2 separate regions of the Homo sapiens genome follow, and region 2 is linked to region 1. The links are contacts of gene promoters, found by promoter capture Hi-C in blood cells and fetal thymus (Javierre and others, 2016). All regions are on one chromosome and are shown on one strand. Each heading gives the region's core, a stretch centred on a gene start or on the middle of the fragment in contact. The rest is flanking DNA. Distances are from core to core; before and after follow the strand shown.

Evidence for each region. Contacts are between HindIII fragments. The CHiCAGO score rates a contact against its expected background, and 5 or more counts as called.
Region 2: a fragment that was not itself captured here is called in contact with the fragment with the promoter of PLAG1 in region 1 in 1 of 17 cell types (total CD4 T cells); the score reaches 7.0 in total CD4 T cells.

The regions. Positions count from the first base shown.
Region 1 is chr8:56,209,474-56,213,099 of GRCh38, forward strand. It overlaps PLAG1 (PLAG1 zinc finger), which reads right to left and starts at 1,800. Exons shown (of 5, transcript NM_002655.3): 1 at 1,648-1,800. CHCHD7 (coiled-coil-helix-coiled-coil-helix domain containing 7) reads left to right here and starts at 2,316. Exons shown (of 4, transcript NM_001011671.3): 1 at 2,316-2,364. RefSeq lists silencers at 1,785-2,344, 2,187-2,412 and an enhancer at 2,425-2,494. The HindIII fragment of the contact is 9,849 bases long and covers 1-3,626 here.
Region 2 is chr8:54,169,897-54,173,309 of GRCh38, forward strand. No RefSeq gene overlaps it. Among named protein-coding and RNA genes, the nearest start is that of MRPL15, 36 kb to the left of the region's middle. The HindIII fragment of the contact is 2,812 bases long and covers 473-3,284 here.

The DNA of each region.
Region 1 (3,626 bases), core at 550-3,049:
GACAGTGATTCTGTGTAGGTGATGAAAACCATAAGAAAAGAGAAGCTGTCCCTTTAAAATGCCCTGCTCTGTCCCATATCCCACGTGGAACCAACATCAGCAGCACTTTCCCATTAACATCAATGTGATGCAAGAGACATCATCCTTTTATACACATAAAACCAGAAAACCTCAGCTTAACATTCTTTAGGAAGGATGAACAGGTGAAGCAAACATGTCAGGAAGGGGGAAACCAAGCAACTCCACATCCCTCCCCAAAAGGTACTCCAGCCTTGCACTCCAGCCTCTCTGAGCACCATCACCTCTCTATCCCTCCTCTGCAGAGCCCAGTTTAAAGAAAGGAGGGAGCCACTAACAAAACCTGAAGCATAAATGCGACGAAAATGCAATCTAAAGCCGGAAAGGTTCATTCTTCCAATCACACATATTAACTCTATTAAGAAAATGGCATCACTTTTTTTTCCACCCAAAAAAACCCCGCAAAGATCATTAAAAGAGAGTTATAAAATAGCAAATATAGTGTTTATCTTATCTGAGATCAGTCCACATTACCAATAAGTTTAGCAGTTTCTGCACTACCACCTCCCCCCTCGCTCCCCCTGCTTCTCTTGCATCGGATTTTCACGTTTTCTCATTGTCGGTTGAGTTATAAAAGGCTTTTGCCCTTCGAAAGTTTTAAAAAATAAATAAATATTAACTCCTTGGTCCCTGCAAAGTCAAAATGGACTTCAGGGGAAAGGCGGTACATACTTTTACCTTTAGCGAGAAAAGGGGGAGCATCCCGGATTTTTAGGGATTTTTTGCGATTTTTTAAAAATTTTTATTTGGTTATATGCCTGAGTTCTCCCTCCATTTTGGTTGTTTATGATACTGACAACAAGCTGTCCCTGCTCTGTGCCGATCTCCTGCTTTCATTTAGCACCCCCTCCCCCTACCCCCCCTCGCAGCCACACACCCCGGGCTCACACCTCCCTGCAGACCCCGCACCCCGACCCCGGCTTGCCCACCTGAGGAAAGGGCAAAAACAAATTCATTTCTCCAGAAAAGAAAAACCTCTTTTGAAAAAGGGGCAAAGTTACCCCAAGTCACTCAAAGTGCCCCCCAAATATTGCCGACTGCGGGTTTCCGCCAGGCCCTTTGGGAAGCGACCTTCCCCCGGGATGTTTTGGTGGAAAATGCGGAGAGTTTACTCTCAAAACTGAATTTATATTAATTTTTCCCTTATTTTTCGGGTCTCTAATGTCTTCCGCTCTCGCTGCTGCCGCTGCCGCTGTCACAATATTCACAGCACCAGAGAGGAGGAGGAGGAGGAGGAGGAGGAAAACTTTTCAAACTTTCCAGACCCTGAATAAAGGTTTTTTTTTTTTTCCCACCGACCTCACCTTCGGGTCCCCAGCCGCATCGCCCCCTGCCCTGTCAGAAGCGACTTCGGGAGTCCTCGCAGCCCCGCGTAATTATTTTATTTTATTTTTTATTATTATTTTTCTCTCTGGGGTCCTGAGCAGGGGCTGAGAGTAGCACAAACTTTTCCTCCTCCTGCCGCCGCCGCTGCTCCTCTGCCCCCTCGGCTAGTCCCATAATTTAAATAACCCTGATATTTCTCCCGCTAAACGCCTCGCCGCCGCCCCGGACCCCCGGAGAACTCACCGCGGGGCTTTAACATCCTCCCTCCGGCCCGTCCGCCGCCTCTACACCGCCCGCGGAATTTCTAATAATTTTTTTCTCATATTTCGGGCTGGACGCGGCGGGCCTGGAAATTGTTTCCTTACGCCTCTTTCCAGCAGCCATTGTAGTGTATGCGCTGCCCCTGCAGCCCAACTTGCAGCTGCCGCCGCCGCCGCCGCCGCCGCCGCCGACGTCGCGCCCACCGCTGCCTCCCCCTGCCTGTTCGGCCACCGCCCCCGCCTCCCGTCGGCCCGCCCCCAAACCCCGCCCGCCGCTGCGCCCGCCCCCCGCGCGCGCTCCGCCCGAGAGCTGGCCACTCGGAGCCGCCGCTGGCGGGAGTTGGCCCGCCCATTGGGCCGCGACGCCGCCCGTCAAGCCGAAGTGTTAAGAGACGGGCCGCGGCTGGGGGGCGCGGTGGGGCGGGGGAAGAGGGGGCGGGGTCGCGCTCACCGCCCCGCCCACTCCTCCCGCCTCGGCCCTCCTTTCGCCAGGCGGGGGCGGGGCGAGGCCCGACCGCCCCTGCGGCCCAGGGCCCCGCGCGGCTGTCAGTCTGGCGGCGGCGCGCGCCGATTGGGCGGGCTGCCGCCGGGGAGCGGGGGCAGCAAGTTGGGATGCGCGCTACTTAAGGTCCTGCTGCGTGAGCCATTGACGTGTTTGGAGCTGGAGACGGCCTGGGTGCTGGCGAAGCGGAGGCCGGAGGTGAGTGGTTCCCCCGCCCTACCTCCGAAGCGGCCGCAGAAAAGCGGGGAGAGAGGGGTGCCCTTGGGCCGTAGCGGGGCCCGAATGCACTTCTGCGGCGCGGAGGCGCTCCCGCCAGGCTTCGCCGCAGCGCGGACCTCTTCCCGTTGCTCTTCCTCCCGCCACACGGGTCTGTTCGCTCCGGGGGCGAGGAAGATGACCTCTGCCTAGTCCGGGCAACCCCAGCTCTTCTTCCACTCTCCTGTGTAGCCTCTGAAGCGCAGTTACCGGCCCCACCCCCAGTTCCCTGCGTTTTCCTCGCCCCTTGTCTCTCTCGGCATGGTCTCGGCACAGCAAGGTGTGTTCACCTGTGCGCGCCGTCCAGGATCAGATGCTGACGGGCTACACCGCGGAAGGCGGCGAGGCCTCGGGTTCGCCCTTCGTTTCTCCTTGCCCTGCGCGCCCACCTCCGGCAGGCCACCCTTGACTTCTTGCCCCCTTCCACTTTGCACCTGGCAGTGGGTTAACGGCACGGCGTGTGCAGCTTCCGGGTTTAGCAGAGCCGCGGACCCTGCCTGGGCTCCGACCACGGGGCGTGTGGGCATGAACGTGTTCAGAAACGTTTCCTTCCCCCTGCCCTTTCAAAGCTACTTAGAGAGGGGGGACGTGAACCACTGGATGGGAAATCAGGAACTGCTTTATTAAGCAGTTTGCCCTTTGGAGTGGATTTTAGAGTTATCCCCTGAATGTGCTATGGTTTTGTGGCCCCTCCTTCATATCTTTGCTTGGTTTTTCTTTCTGGTTATGCTCTGCAAGTAGTAGAGCCTTGTAACATTTATTTAGTACATTCAAAAAGTAATAGACAAGGCCCCTTTAGCGGAGCACTCGATGTTGTAATTCAGCCCCGCTCCTCACTGTAAATTGACATTTCCTCTTCAATTCCAGTTAATACACGAGGAACTCATGCAAAGGAGGGGACTTTCGGAAATCCAAACTTAGAGTGCCTTGTATTTAGAATCCGGAAGGAAAAGGAAATGAAATGTGAAGAAACTCATGCACCAAACTCGAACTGGGTATATGTGATGTTACCTAGGTATTATTTTTGAAGAATTTCTGACTGACAATAAAATATAGAGTAGGATACTTTCATGTAAGGCACGAAACTTAAATTTAATGCAAGGTTGTCTGATCCTTGTTGAGATTATTAAATCTAAGGTGTATGAAGAGTTCTGTGTTCTCACATCATAGGATAGGTGTAAAAAAGAAAGCTGTGAATTTATTTA
Region 2 (3,413 bases), core at 629-3,128, 2.0 Mb before region 1:
AAAAAAAAAAGCTATTCTGATATACAGATTATATCTGATGAATGATTGTGGAAAAGAAAATTTAAAAATTTCTCTATTAAAGTCTAAAAAGTTTTAGAAAGACTCAAACAATTATTTTAAAAGTCCAGGTAAATATTGAAGAATGAGATCACATTACTTGTATTGTAGATTGTGATGCAGCTGCAATAAAACTAAGTAAATTAAGTTGAAAAACTTTTGCTTTAATCTATGGACATGATGTGTGTGTGTGTGTGTGTGTGTATACTTTATTTCAGGAAGTACGCTCACTAAAGAAATGTGAAAAATATAACAACAAGGATGGCGTCATGTTATAATGACATAAATAAACGATGTTGAATTTTTAACCCATTAAACATGATCATCAAAGACATCTAGTCAAGGTCATGGTAAAAATGAACTTCCTGCTTCTTTACTTTAGAATAAACAAAGAAATCTATAAATTGAGACTTCAAGCTTACAGCTACGGGAACTCCAAGGCGAGAGGCTAAGTGACAGGAGGGAGAACTGGCCGCAGCTGCTCGCCCTGCACTTCTGGGCTGCACCAAATCGCCACAGGCCTCACCCTCCTGGCTTTGTCTCCACACAGTGACAGCCCACTGACTCTTTTCATGAAGGGCGAAACACAGTAAGCGTTCCTTGAAGCACTTTTATCCCCTCTGCCTGAAGGTTTTGAGAGCAGGCTTCTGGGAGAGGGTCCCAGCTTGTGTTGGGCCTAATGACCTTGGGAATTGGAGTTCCCTTTTTTTCCACTGCACCAGCTTATGTGCTCATGGTCCTCTTCAGTCTGAGTGGATGTCCACCTGTTAGGTTACTGCTGTAAGGTGCAAAGACTGTGGATGGATGAAACACCCCAACAGGGAAATGAGAAATCTGAAAAAGTAGTCCATAAGCATACGGAGTCTGCACAACCTTACCAAGAATGAAATCATAATTGCAGAATCCAGTGTCAGCGAGAATATGTGGAACTGGGTACCCTCTTACACCATCGTTGGGACTATACTTGGCATATCCTTTTTGAGGGCAACTTTACAGTGTTTGTCAAAGTAAAAAGTCCTTATATTTTGGCCCAAAACCATGTTCTAAGCTAACAATTGTTTTCTAAGGTTGGAAGCCTGACAAAATGGCCTGCAAATGGGGAGAGTTGGCAAGTGCCCCAAACTACTGCTGCTCCCTGTGCACCTGCCGCCTGGGTCTATGCTATTCATTCTCATTTTAGTTAATTATTATTATTATTATTATTTTGAGATGGAGTCTCACTCTGTTGCCCAGGCTGGAGAGCAATGGCGCGATCTCGCTCACTGCAACCTCTGCCTCCTGGATTCAAGTGATTCTCCTGCCTCAGCCTCTCGAGTAGCTGGGATTACAGGCACGTGCCACCACACCAGGCTAATTTTTGTATTTTTATTAGAGACGGGGTTTCACCATGTTGGCCAGGCTGGTCTTGAACTCTGAACTCAAGTGATCTGCCCTGCTCGGCCTCCCAAAGTGCTGGGATTACAGGTGTGAGCCACCGTGCCTGGCCATTTTAGTTGATTCTAATTGGAAATCAGTCACAGACATTGGCAGCTCAAGAGATAACTTTTTTTTTTCTTTTTTTTCCCTCGTGATGCAACAGTATTTTCTTTTCTTTTAAAATTGAGACGGGGTCTTGCTATGTTGCCCAGGCTGGTCTTGAACTTCTGTGCTCAAGCAATCCTGCCTTAGCTTTCTGAGTAGCTGGGATTATAGGCATGTGCCACTGCACCCAGTTATTTATTCTCATTTTATAGGTAAACCCAAAGAGAGCAGAACTTTGATCCCTGTAGCCAGTGAGTTGCCAAATCCGGATTTCAAATAGTCTTAGAAATACCAAATTACACTGAAAATAAATGCATGGATAAAGGAGTGATGGTGTTTAAGGGTTAAAATATTTTCTATTACTCAAAAAGGATTGTGAAATAAAGGCTTTTCCAGTTGAGCAGAGCACCAGCCTGGGCCAGCTGAGCCACACTGCCTTCTGTGGCTTCTGATTACTCATGCAGCAGGAACTGGGAGAGGGTGTCCTGGTCTTTGTTCCCACTCCCTATTCTGACAGCTCCTCCATGGGGAGAATCTTTTCCATCTCTAAATGAACTCTTGCAGGGCGAGGACTGTGTATTGGGTGTCAAGGTCAGAAGCAGAATCCAGTGTTCCAAATCATAACACAAAGAAAACCAACAAGGCTGTTTTTAGTTCCTAAGTACACTACATGATAACTGAGATACATTTAAATCATTGGAAGTGGAGAAAATTGGGGAAAAAGTTATTTATTTATTTATTTATTTTTGATACAGTTTCGCTCTTGTTGCCCAGGTTGGAGTGCAATGGCGTGATCTCCGCTCACTGCAACCTCTGCCTCCCAGGTTCAAGTGATTCTCCCGCCTCAGCCACCCAAGTAGCTGGGATTCCAGGTGCCCACCACCATGCTTGGCTAATTTTTGTATTTTTAGTAGAGATAGGGTTACACCATGTTAACCAGGCTGGTCTCAAACTCCTGACCTCAGGTGATCCACCTGCCTCGGCCTCCCAAAGTGCTGGGATTACAGGCGTGAGCCACCGCGCATGGCCGCAAAGTTTATTTAGACAATTGCGCTGAACCATAAGGAATATCTCTGTGTGCTGTGACTTCTTTGAGCTGGTCTGAATCCTAGCTATGTGGTTATGTACATTTCATTTTCATCAACAGGACAGCCTGGCTGTCTGGCAAAACTAAAGAAAGATTATTTTGCTTATCTATTCCTCTCCCTCATAGCCCTCCCCAAATTATAAAATACTTTTGAAAGCATGTAAATGGTGTAGTAGTTGAGCTCATTTTCCTTATCTTGCAGGTATGCATAAGCCCTGCTCAATCTACAAAACAAAACGAAAATCTCAACTTTATAAAACACTAATAATTTACTACAGTATTTCTTCAAACACACACACATAACTGACATTTATTGAGTGCTTTCTGTGTGCCAGGCCTAGGTCTAAGTTCTTTATGTAAATTAACTCACCCCTCGCAGCCCTCTTCCTGGGGCTGGTAGGAATGCCTGTCTGTGGTCGGTGCTGAGATGGGGCTCAGCCCCAGTGAGCATCTTGTGATCCTCCTAGGTGATCAGATGGCCGTCAGCCCCATGGTCATCCTTGTCCATGATGCACACACTTAGTTGTCTTCTTGTTGGCATAAAAGGATGCCAGTCTCCGCTGTTTCAGACAACAACCCCAGAAGGATCATTTGGAAGGGACTGTGGCTGTGTTCTGAAAGCTTCTTGACACCCCAGGTAAGGTCAAGAAAACAGCACACCAAAACTTGCAAAAGAGGTGTCTGAGGCTTGATGAAGGTCCAGGAGAAAATGCTGCCGGTGTCCTGATGGCACAGAGCAAAGACCTTT